Linked DNA regions of Homo sapiens: region 1 is linked to region 2. Evidence: promoter capture Hi-C in human tissues and cell types (Jung and others, 2019). All regions are on one chromosome and are shown on one strand. Each heading gives the region's core, a stretch centred on a gene start or on the middle of the fragment in contact. The rest is flanking DNA. Distances are from core to core; before and after follow the strand shown. Region 1 overlaps LOC105373032 (a long non-coding RNA gene). Region 2 holds the start of APOBEC3C (apolipoprotein B mRNA editing enzyme catalytic subunit 3C).

Evidence for each region. Contacts are between HindIII fragments. The study calls those that stand out against the background at their distance.
Region 1: a contact is called between a fragment that was not itself captured here and the fragment with the promoter of APOBEC3C in region 2, in 2 of the 25 tissues and cell types used here (aorta and pancreas).

Annotation. Positions count from the first base shown.
Region 1 is chr22:38,892,135-38,898,337 of GRCh38, reverse strand. The region is part of intron 1 of LOC105373032 (a long non-coding RNA gene); the gene reads right to left. Among named protein-coding and RNA genes, the nearest start is that of CBX6, 23 kb to the right of the region's middle. RefSeq lists an enhancer at 3,764-3,933. The HindIII fragment of the contact is 6,036 bases long and covers 668-6,203 here.
Region 2 is chr22:39,012,789-39,018,246 of GRCh38, reverse strand. It overlaps APOBEC3C (apolipoprotein B mRNA editing enzyme catalytic subunit 3C), which reads right to left and starts at 3,990. Exons shown (of 4, transcript NM_014508.3): 1 at 3,868-3,990; 2 at 2,496-2,652; 3 at 202-481. The coding sequence starts at 3,884. RefSeq lists a silencer at 3,700-3,749 and enhancers at 3,860-3,969, 3,542-4,159, 3,889-4,183, 4,160-4,778. The HindIII fragment of the contact is 14,453 bases long and covers 1-5,458 here.

The DNA.
Region 1 (6,203 bases), core at 2,436-4,935, 120 kb after region 2:
CTTGGGAGAATAATTTGGATTTATAGCCTAAAACCCTGATGTTATCATACAAAATCTGATATATCAAGTTGATAAAGAAGTGTTATATGTGATTAAAAAGAAAAATATGTGTCTCCAGAAAGGGAGCAATGCAAGGTGAGGACAAACCAAACCAAAAATCTATACAATGTGAAGAGGAAGGCAGTAAACAGGGTAAAGTAGGATGGAAAGGAGACTTCTGTGAAGACACCTTGTTTTACAGTTTTCACTTTAAAATAAAACAAATTTTACATAAATACAAAATAAAATGAAATCAAAATAGAAAAAAATCCCTAAAAATTGAAAACAAATTTAAACAAGCTAAACTAAAATACATCAAGTTAGTAGCATAGACACATTAAAAAATTATTTCATGTTACTTTAAAACACAGTATTTTAAGTGTACATTCCTAGTGGAAAATATTCTAAAGACAATAAGAACTACATAGAAATGTTGAACTATATTCAGGGTCTTATTGTTAGTAGCAATTTTGAAATTTTTAATTTTGGAATACCTATAGGTATATTATAGGATAAGCCAAATAATACATACGTTTGCTCATTAAAAAAACAAAAGTTTCAGTTGAGTGCATTGGTGCACACCTATAGACTGGGAGGCTGAGGCAGGAGGATCGCTTGAGCCCAGGAGTTTGAGGCTGTAGTGTGCTACAATTGTGCCTGTAAACAGCCATTGCACCCTAGCCTGGGCAACATAGACCCCATCTCTAAAAACAAAACAAAACAAAAACCAAGATTTTCAGTGAAAGAAAAAAATATACAAGTATTAAACCAAATATTTTGAGTTAAACTCTTGTAATCATAAATTTGAATTGGAAATATCAGTATGAACTCATAACTCTTTTCTTTTAGAATGCACTCATTTCCTAATATGTGCACTGAAAATCCTGGAAGGCATGAAAACACACTAGTAATGATCACTCCTCAGTCCCCAGATTGTGGTCTCTAAGTATCATTTTCCCCTAAAGGAACTAGCGTTTCTTAACATAACAGCTGGTTCCAGGTCTGGGGCAGGAATTGTAAAAATTGCCTAGAATACGTTGTGTTAGACAAAAAGGAAGCTATCACAGACTGCTGGGATCACGTCAAAGGACACAGAAGCCAACTTGAAGGGTTCTTTGTTGTTTGGGTTTTTTCTTTTTACTAAGATGGGTCGATTTAACAGTAACCAAATAGTGCATGAGGGAAATTTCTTTATAGAAGAATTTCAGCTACTAAATGCAGAAAAATGTTAGGAAATCACTATTTTACAATCCCTAATGAAACCATGGATGTAGCCAATGATCACCAATGAACAACCAATCCGTTAAGTGAAAGATGAATAGGGAACTTCATAAGGAAGAGATTAGGCTGATAGCACCTGAAACCATTTATGAAAATTATCATTTAAAAAATGGAGACAACCAGACCTTACATGCTTTATGATGTGATGAAACAGGAAGTAAGAGCATCACTTGTGAATGTTCCTTCCTAAGTAAATAAATCTGAACCTAATTTAGCTAGCTAGACATACATACTGGTTAATAGGAAATACAGGGGATAGAAGAAGAAGGCACCACAAGGAAGCAATCAGCTAAATCCAGAATGTAGGACATGCCTCTCCAAAATGACCAGATTTTTAATAAATTGGTGGCATGGAAATAAAACAAGGTTCCCTATAGAATAAAAGAGACAAGGAACAGCAATAAAATGCAATATGTGGCCTTTGTTTGAATCCTGATCTGAAAAAAAAACCTGAAAAGATGCTTTTGAAACAGAAAAATTTGTATATGAACTGAATATTGAATGATAGAAACAATGTAATTATTAGACAGTGGTTATATAAAAACAAAATGTCTGAGTTAAAGATGCATAATGAAGTATTTACAGGTGAAATGACATGATATCTGAGATCTACTTTAAAATAATATAGAAAACAAAAAAAGAAAAATAAGGAAATAGATGAAACAAAATTGGCAAAATATTGATAATTGTTGGAGACATAATTGGTACATGGGTGTTCACTATATATATTATATATGTATTATATATATGTATTATATATAATATTACATATAATTATATATATAATATATATCATATATTATATATATACACACATATGTTTTTTTGAGACAAAGTCTCACTCTGTCACCAGGCTGGAGTGCAGTGGTATGATCTTGGCTCACTGCAACCTCCGCCCCCTGGGTTCAAGCAATTCTACTGCCTCAGCCTCCCGAGTAGCTGGGATTACAGGCACGCGCCACCACACCCAGCTAATTTTTTAAATTTTTAGTAGAGACAGGGTTTCACCATGTTTGCCAGGATGGTCTCCATCTCTGGACCTTGTGATCCACCCACCTTGGCCTTCCAAAGTGCTGAGATTACAGGTGTGAGCCACTGCACCCATATCACTATATTGTTTTTTACTTGTGTATAGATGTGAAATTTTCCATAATATAAAGTTTGCAAAGGAAGCAAAATAAACGTAAAATTTCTGTTACAGGTAAGATAAAATAGAGAAAAGAGATTGGTTAACATTAGAATGTATATGATAGTCCAGATGCAGTGGCTCATGCCTTTAGTCCCAACACTTTGGGAGGCCAAGGCAGGAGGATCACTTGAGCCCAGGAGTTCAAGGCTGCAATGTATATGATAAATTGCAGGGTAGTCATTGAGAGAATAAAAACAGAATATAAAACTTCCAAACCAACAAAGTGGAAAAACAGAAATAAGAGAAAAATCTTCATCTATTCAAAACAGTCCAAAAAAGAGCAAGTTATAAACAACAGGAAAAAAAATAAATGAGACAATAAGATGTAGTCATAAATTCATATATAGGTAATCATAATAAATTTGAATTAATTAAACTTTCCTGTTAAAAGGCAAGGATTTAATGGCATGCTGCAAATGTGATGCTCAAAGGGAAATTTCTAACACTAAATGCCTACATCAAAAAAGAAAGATTTCAAATCAATAACCTAATTTTATACCTTAAGGAATTAGAAAAAGAAGAGCAAATTAAACAGAAAGCTAGCAGAAAGAAGGAAATAATAAAAATAAAAGATTAACATGGAGAAAAATGAGACAGAGAGTAGAAAAACAACAGAGAAAATCAACAAAATCAAAAGTTGATATTTGAAAAAAAAAATCAACAAAATTAACAAAGCTTTAGCTAGACTAAGGAAAAAAGAAAAAATGCCAAAAACTAAAACCGCAAATGAAAGCGGGGACACTACTACCAACCTTACGGAAATAAAAAGGATTATGGGAGAATAGTACACCAACAAATTAGGTAACCGAGATGAAATGTACAAATTCCTAGAAACACACAAATTACCAAAACTGGTTTGAAAAGAAATAAAAAATCTGCACATAAATCTTACAAGTAAAGAGATTGCACCTGTACTAAAATGCTTCCCAACAACAAAAGTCCAGGATCAGCCGGGCACAGTGGCTCATGCCTGTAATCCCAGCACTTTGGGAGGCCAAGTTGGGCAGATTGCCTGAGGTCAGGAGTTTGAGACCAACCCGGCCAACGTAGTGAAACCCCGTCTCAACTAAAAATACAAAAAATACCTGGGCGTGGTGGTGCATGCCTGTAGTCCCAGCTACTCGGGTGGCTGAGGCAGGAGAATTGCTTGAACCCGGGAGGCAGAAGTTGCAGTGATCTTGCACTCCAGCCTGGGCGACAAGAGAGAAACTTCGTCTCCAAAAAAAGAAGAAAAAAAAGCACATATACATCTTTCAGTATTCAGAGGGGGGAAGAAACAGAAGGCTTCAAGGCAAAAAATAAATAAATAAAATAACTTGAGATAAAGTAAGTCACAACATAATGATCAACAAATATTTTTCGAGTGCCTACTGCACACCAGGCACTGTTCCAGGCAGTTCCACAATGAGAGAGAGTAATCATATTATCTGGAAGTTATGGCAGTTTTGTGTCTTCTGTCCCAATGTTGTATCCTTCATTCATTTTTCCTGGCCCTACTATACTTTAATGTTTAATAGAATGGTGAGAGTAAGTTTCCTTGGCTTGTTACTGATCTTAACATTTTAATATTTACTAAAGTCTTCACTGTGGGGAATTTTTAAAAAAATACATCTTTTATGGCTGAGCGTGGTAGCTCATGCCTGTAATCGCAGCACTCTGGGAGGACAAGCAGGCGGATCACCAGAGGTCAGGAGTTCAAGACCAGCCTAGGCAACATGGTGAAACGCTGTCTCTATTAAAAATACAAAAGTTAGCTGGGCGTAGGGGCGCACGCCTGTAATTCCCAGCTACTCAGGAGGTTGAGGCAGGAGAATCGCTTGAACTCAGGAGGCAGAGGTTGCAGTGAGCCAAGATTGCACCACTGCACTCCAGCCTGGGTGACAGAGCGAGACTCCATCTCATAAAATAAACAAATAAATAACAAAAAGACATCCTGTATTAGTTTAAAAGCGTTTCTTTATATTCTTAATTTGTTTAGTTTTTTAATCATAAATAGAGGTTGAATTTCAGCAAACACCTGTTCTGCATTTATTGAAATGATCCTATGGTTTTTCTCCTTCTATCTGTTAATGTGAAAAATTACGTACTTACTTTTCTAATCTATTCTAGTGTACTCTAATCCAATTTGGTCATGATGTATTATCTTGGATTCAGTTTACTGATGTTTTGTTTATGGAAAAGATTGTTCTATATTTTCCTTCCTCAAACAGTCTTTGGTTGGGATAACAAGCAGATTAAGCCAACTTTGTAAAAATTATTAGCAAGTATTGGTAATTTTTCTACTTGCTGGAATAGTTTGTATTTGAAAGTATTCATTCCTTAAATGTTTGGTAAAACCCTTCTGTTTAAAAAAAAAAGTCTAGTCCTGCTGTTTCTTTGATATGAAGATTTTTAGTCACCAATTCAATTTTTTAAATGGTTAAAACATCGTTTACATTTAAAATGTCTTAAATGTAAAATTTGTGCAACTTGATTTACATTTTCAAAATTATTGGCATAAAGTTGCATCATATTTTTACATTTTTAAAATTGATTCTTCATCGAAGTCATGTTTCCTTTCTTTATTTTTATTTAATTTTTTTGAGACGGAGTTTTGCTCTTGTTGCCCTGGCTGGAGTACAATGGTGCAATCTCGGCTCACTGCAACCTCCGTCTCCCAGGTTCAAGCGATTCTCCTGCCTCAGCCTCCCAAGTACCTGGGATTACAGGCATGCACCACCACGCCCGGCTAATTTTGTATTTTTAGGAGAGACAGGGTTTCTCCATGTTGGTCAGGCTGGTCTTGAACTCTCGACCTCAGGTGATCTGCCTGCCTCGGCCTCCCAAAGTGTCGGGATTACGGGCGTGAGCCACGGCGCCCAGCCAATTTCCTTTCAATTCTGCTATACTTTATGGGTCCCATCTCTATTTCCTAATTAGTCTTGCCAAAGGTTTGCCAGTTTTATTAGTTTTTTCAAAAAAACAAAATTTGGCTTTGTTCGTCATGTCAATTTTATGATTGCTCTCTGTTTCATTTATTTCTGCTCTTACCTGTAAATTTTCTTTTTTCTACTGTTTAGGATTTACTCAGCTGTTCTCTTGGTAACTTCTCATGTTAAATGTTTGGCTTATTGATTTTCAGCCTTTTTCTCCTATATCATAAGCCTCTCATATGTTCTGATACGTGGAATTTTCATTATTGTTCGCTTCTAAGCATATTCTAAAACCTGTTATGCTTTCTTTTTTTACCCATGAATTATTTAAAGGTTTTTCCTATTTCTATGCTTTTTTGTTATTTATTTCTTATTGAAGTACATGGTGGTCAGAAAATATTGTTTGTTCAATCCATCCTTTTGGCATTAACAAAAGATTGCTTTTTGGCAAGATAAATGGTCAATTTTCATAAATATTCCAGACGTGCTTGAAAGTAATGTAATGTCTGCAGTTACTTGGTGAAATGTTCTGGAAATTCCCATTAAGTAAAATTTGTAATTCCATAATTCTCATCTCTCATCTTTTCTATGCTCACTGACTTTTGTTTTTTTCTGCTTTCTCCTTCTGAATTACTCAGTGAGGTATGTTAGACAAGACAGAACTATCCAAACTCACAGTAAGAAACCAATCAGTGAAATCTAGAAGGCAGAATATTCTATCGGACAGTAGCTTAATTCCTTCAATTCACGGTATGAAAATAGAGGCTGTTCTAAATTAAAAG
Region 2 (5,458 bases), core at 2,741-5,240:
CAGTGAGGGCCCAGCAGGCCTCTCTCCTGGCCCTGGGCCCTCCCCTCCCAGCCCAGGTATCCAGGCTGCCAGTTGCAGTGGGCGCTGGCCCGGTCCCCACAGACACCCAGGGGACACTGACCCGCCCCACAGCATTGGAGAACCATCTGCCCCTCATGCTGTCCCTCCTGCACCCACTCTCCTCAGCCCCCCACGTCTCACCTTCATAGTCCATGATCTCCACAGCGACCCCTTCCTGACTCAGGCTGCGGAGCCCCTCCTGGTAACATGGATACTGGAAGTAGTAGAGGCGGGCGGTGAAGATGGTGAGATTCACGTTGCTGTGCCTGGCCAGGAACTCGGCCACCTCCCCTGCACAGTCTGGGCAAGGGCTCCAAGATGTGTACCAGGTGACCTGGTACTTTGTGTTAGGAGACAGTATGTCGTCGCAGAACCAAGAGAGGAAGCACCTTTCTGCATGACAATGGGTCTCAGAATCCACCTGGCGAAGGAGGAGGAGGAGGACAGGGGAGCTCAGACCAGGAGCAGGAGGAGTGCAGGGGTGGGGCGATGGGAGCAGAGGGCGGGCCTGGAGCCCCGGGCCGTTTCCTTATTTACTCATTTTTGAGACAGGGTCTCTCTCTGGTGCACAGGTTAGGGGGTGCAGTGGTGGGATCTGGGCTGACTGCAGCCTTGACCTCCCAGGCTCAAGGAATCTTCCCACCTCAGCCTCCTGATAAGCTGGGATGCAGGTGCATGCCGCCACACCTGCCTAATTTTTTAAATAATTTTTTTAGAGACGGGGTTTCACCATGTTGCCCAGGCTGATCTTGAACTCTTGGGCTCAAGCGATCCTCCTGCCTCACCCTCCCAAAGCTCTGGGACTATGAGCATAAACCACATGCACAGCCTTATTTTATTTCTTTACTTTTCATTTTTCTGGCTACATAGTAGGCCCCAGGGTGTTTTATTCATTGAGTTTCCCTTCTTCTATCCTTCTCCTTCTCTCTTTATTCTTTTATTTTTATTTTTTTCAAAGATGGAGTCTTGCTCTGTCGCCAAGGCTGGAGTGCAGTGGCACAATCTCGGCTCACTGCAACCTCTGCCTCCCAGGTTCAAGCAATTCTCCTGCCTCAGCCTCCTGAGTAGCTGGGACTACAGGCATGCACCCCCACACCTGGCTAATCTTTGTATTTTTAGTAGAGACTGGGTTTCATCATGTTAGCCAGGCTGGTCTCGAACTCCCAACCTCATGATCCGCCTGCCTCAGCCTCCCAAAGTGCTGGGATTACAGGCATGAGCCACCGCGCCGTGCCCGGCCCCTTCCTTCTTTATTTTATTGATTCTTTCCCTGTCTCATAGACTCATGTGTGAATTCTGCCATCTTTTCTCCCAGGCATCCATTCACCAGGCATCCTCAGCCCCTGCTATGGCCTGGCTCTCTGGGGTCAGCTTTGTTCCCTGCCTGCCTTCTGCTGAGGAATCAGGGCAGTGGCGGGGGCGGCCCCACCAGCCCGCAGTCACTGGCCCAGACACAGCGCTGGACACAACACCCCCCGCTTCCCACAGCTGCTGATTCCCGAGGACTGCCGGACGCACAGCTCCATAACAAGATTTTGGGAAACAAAGTCAAGAGTGAGGGTGCTGGGCGCTAAACAAGGCCTTTTGGGAGGAAGCAAACCCCCTCCACGATCTGATCACAGGAGAGTCAGGGAGGAAGATCTGGGCCATGGACTTAAAAAATGTGGGGAGGCCGGGCACAGTGGCTCATGCCTGTAATCCCAGCACTTTGGGAGGCCAAGGCGGGCGGATCATGAGGTCAGGAGATCGAGACCATCTTGGCTAACACCATGAAACCCCGTCTCTACTAAAAAAAAAAAAAAAAAGAAAAAAAGAAAAAATTAGCTGGGCATGGTGGTGGGCGCCTGTAGTCCCAGCTACTTGGGAGGCTGAGGCAGGAGAATGGCGTGAACCCGGGAGGCGGAGCTTGCAGTGAGCTGAGATTGTGCCACTGCACTCCAGCCTGGGCGATAGAGCAAGACTCCGTCTCAAAATAAATAAATAAATAAATAAATAATGTGGGGAGGAGGCCAGGGGCATGGTGTCTCACGCATGTAATCCTAGCACTTTGGGAGGCCAAGGCTGGTGGATCACTTGAGGTCAGGAGTTCGAAACCAGCCTGGCCAACATGGCAAAATCCTGTTTCTACTAAAAATACAAAAGAATTGGCTGGGCATGGTGGCAGGTGCCTGTAATCCCAGCTACTCGGGAGACTGAGGCAGGAGAATCGCGTGAACCTGGAAAGCAGAGGTTGCCGTGAGCTGAAATCAGACCACTGCATTCCAGCCTGGGTGACAGAGCGAGACTCCATCTCAAAAAAAAAAAAAAAAAAATAGAAATGTGGCAGGAAAGTGCACACAGGAGAGCCCACGCCGGGCACATCACTTATTGTTGCGTTTTCTGCATTCCCAGCTGCTTAGCTCCTATTTAGGGTGTAACTAGGACTTTGGTGCTACCTGGTTTCGGAAGACGCCCGTCTTCCAGGAGACAACTGAGCGGCGCTTTATACCTTCCACGGTGAAGCACAGCCAAGTTTCGTTCCGATCGTTGGCTTCCCATAGGTTTTTAAATTGGAAGTAGAATGTGCCTGGATACATTGCCTTCATCGGGTTTCTGAAGGCACAAGAGAGAAACCCCAATGCAGAGACCCCCGCACCGGAGTCCTCAGGGCTGATGCCCACTGAACACAGCTGCCTGGACGTCCCTGGGCTCTGGGCCTCCCCCATCCCTCCACAGCCCTGAGAATGTCTGCTGCTTTCCCAGGCAGGAAGACGGGGAGAGAGAAAGAGGAGGGGACGCTGGCAGGGGCAGCAGGGCCGGGGTGACCTCTCCTAGCTGGAACCCCAGCTCTGGGGCTACCAATGGAACACCCTCAACCTCCCAGTTTTTCTGCTACTTTTTTTTTTTTTTTTTTAAAGACGGCATCTCGCTCTGTCCCCCAGGCTGGAGTTTGCAATCTCAGCTCACTGCAACCTCCACCCCTCGGGTTCAAGGGATTCTCCTGCCTCAGCCTCCCAAGTAGCTGGGATTACAGACGCCCGCCAGCACCCCTGGCTAATTTTCTGTATTTTCAGTAGAGACGAGGTTTCACCATGTTAGTCAGGCTGGTCTCAAACTCCTGACCACAAGTGACCCGCCCGCCTCAGCCTCCCAAAGTGCTAGGATTACAGGCATAAGCCACCGTGCCTGGCCTAAAATAAGAGCATTTCTCCTGATCATCATATTTTTTCCTACACTCCATGTTGCAGGTGTCATTCTGAAAGGTGAACGGTGCTCACAGAGGAGGAGCCTGTGTCTGGGGTCGTGTGCATCCTACTCTGCTCACAGTGGAGGCATCTTTGGAAGAAGTGACTTATTTTCTGGTACAGAGACCATTCCCTCCCCCACACCCTCTCCTAAGACTTTGTATTGAAACAAAGTAAATCTTACAGAAATTGCACCAAAGCGCTGAGAACAAAATGCCTGATTGCTCAAATCATCCTTTGGTTCAATTCTCCCAGTTCCAGAGCTCCCAGGAATAGTGGGAAGCACACAGAGGAAGCACCCTCCCAGGGCGGGAAGCACCAGCCCGGGCATGATTTTCGGGGGAGAGTCTCAGCAGGCGGACTGGGCTGGGGCAAGTGGGGAAGGTGGCCCATTCAGAAGCAGCAGTCGTGGGACCACACAGCAGGGCAAGGAGCTTGGCTGGGAGTGGGGGCAGCGGGGGAACCAGGGGGGAGGGAGCCCAGAGGTGGGGCTGGGGCAGGGGGAGGCCAGGGCTGAGGCCCAGCAGGACCGCCTGGCAGGAAGTGGCAGGAGGGGCCTGGCGGACAAAGCGTGCAGAGGTACCTGATCTGTGGATTCATGTTCAGCCTCTTAGATATGCTTGTCCCTGTCCCACTCTTTTCTGAAGCGCTGTGGCTTCTCTTCCTGCTTACAGCGTCCTTGCAGTTGAGCAGCCCTCTTTAAAGTGACCTCCCAGGGCCTTGTGAATCATGGCCCCTCCCCATTCCTGCTCAGGCACTGGTGTGGGAGGCCCCGGGGTGCTTCATGTTTCTCTGGCTCTGGCCCTCTTTCTGGTTTTCTCCGGGCCCCTCCTACTGGCAGAGGAACCTCCGATAAAGACAGGCTGCTCTGTCTTTATCTGTCCTGGGCAGGACCCAACGGAACTGCAAAAAGAAGAGAAAGAGAAAGAGAAAGGCATTGCAGCCTGAGCCTGGGACGCGGGTCCAGACCCAGCTGAGAGAGGGGCAGGTGCCCCGTTGCCTGGTGGTTGGGCAGGCTGGAGCCCCCTCTCCACCACCCCCTCCCCAGCCCTAATGTGTGCCCAGAGCTTTGAGCAGCACCACCCTGTTGAGTGAGGGGAGGTTTTGAGACCCCAGTGGGGAAGGAAGTGTGGACTCCGCACAGCACAAGCGAAGGCTTAGGTGTGCCTCGAGTTCCCAGCTGTGTGCTGAGTCCATCGCACGCATCCCCTCTTCCAACCTCCCAGCTTCCAGAAGGTGGGGGGCAGTTCAGCCCCTCAGAGATGTGGGCGGAGGATTACCTAGGTGCTGAGGCAAGAGACTGAAGGCACAAACTGTTTCAGTATAATAAAGAATATACTTACAATAAGAATAGTTATAATACAAATTAGATACAGAGATGATCATGGACATTATCAATCATTAGTGTAGATATTATTAATCATTAGCTTTTAATATTACTCTTTATTGTATTACTAATATAACCAAGAAATAACCGGTGGGTATAGGGTCAGGTGCTGAAGGGCTGTTGTGAGAAGTGACCGAGAATGCAAGAGGTGAGCCCTCTGTCACACCCGCATAAGGGCTACTGGAGGGCTCCTTGGTCAGGCGGTAACGCCAGTGCCTAGGAAGGCATCGTTACTTAGCGGACCACGAAAGGGAGTCTCCCTTTTCTTGGAGGAGTCAGGGAACGCTCAGCTCCACCAGCTTCTTGTGGGAGGCTGGATAGTATCCAGGCCTGCCTGCAGCCATCCGGAGGCCTAAACCCCTCCCTGTGATGCTGTGCTTCAATGGTCACGCTCCTTGTCCACTTTCCTCCTGTACTCCTGGTCCCTCTTTGAAGTTCTCAGAAGATAGCGGTAGAAGAAATAGTGAAAGTCTTAAAGTCTTTGATCTTTCTGATAGGTGCATAGAAGAAAACGCTGACGTATACTGCCTTCCCTCTCTGCTTCGGCTACCTATAAGGGAAGGGCCCCCTGTCCTATGATCACGTGACTTGCTCGACCTTATCAATCACTTGGACGACTCACCCTCCTTACCCTGCCCCCCTTGTCTTGTATGCAATAAATAACAGTGCACGCAACCATTTGGGGCCACTACCCATCTCCGTGTCTTGATGGTAGTGGTCCCCCGGGCCCAGCTGTTTTCGCTTTATCTCTTTGTCTTGTGTCTTTACTTTTTACGATTTCTCATCT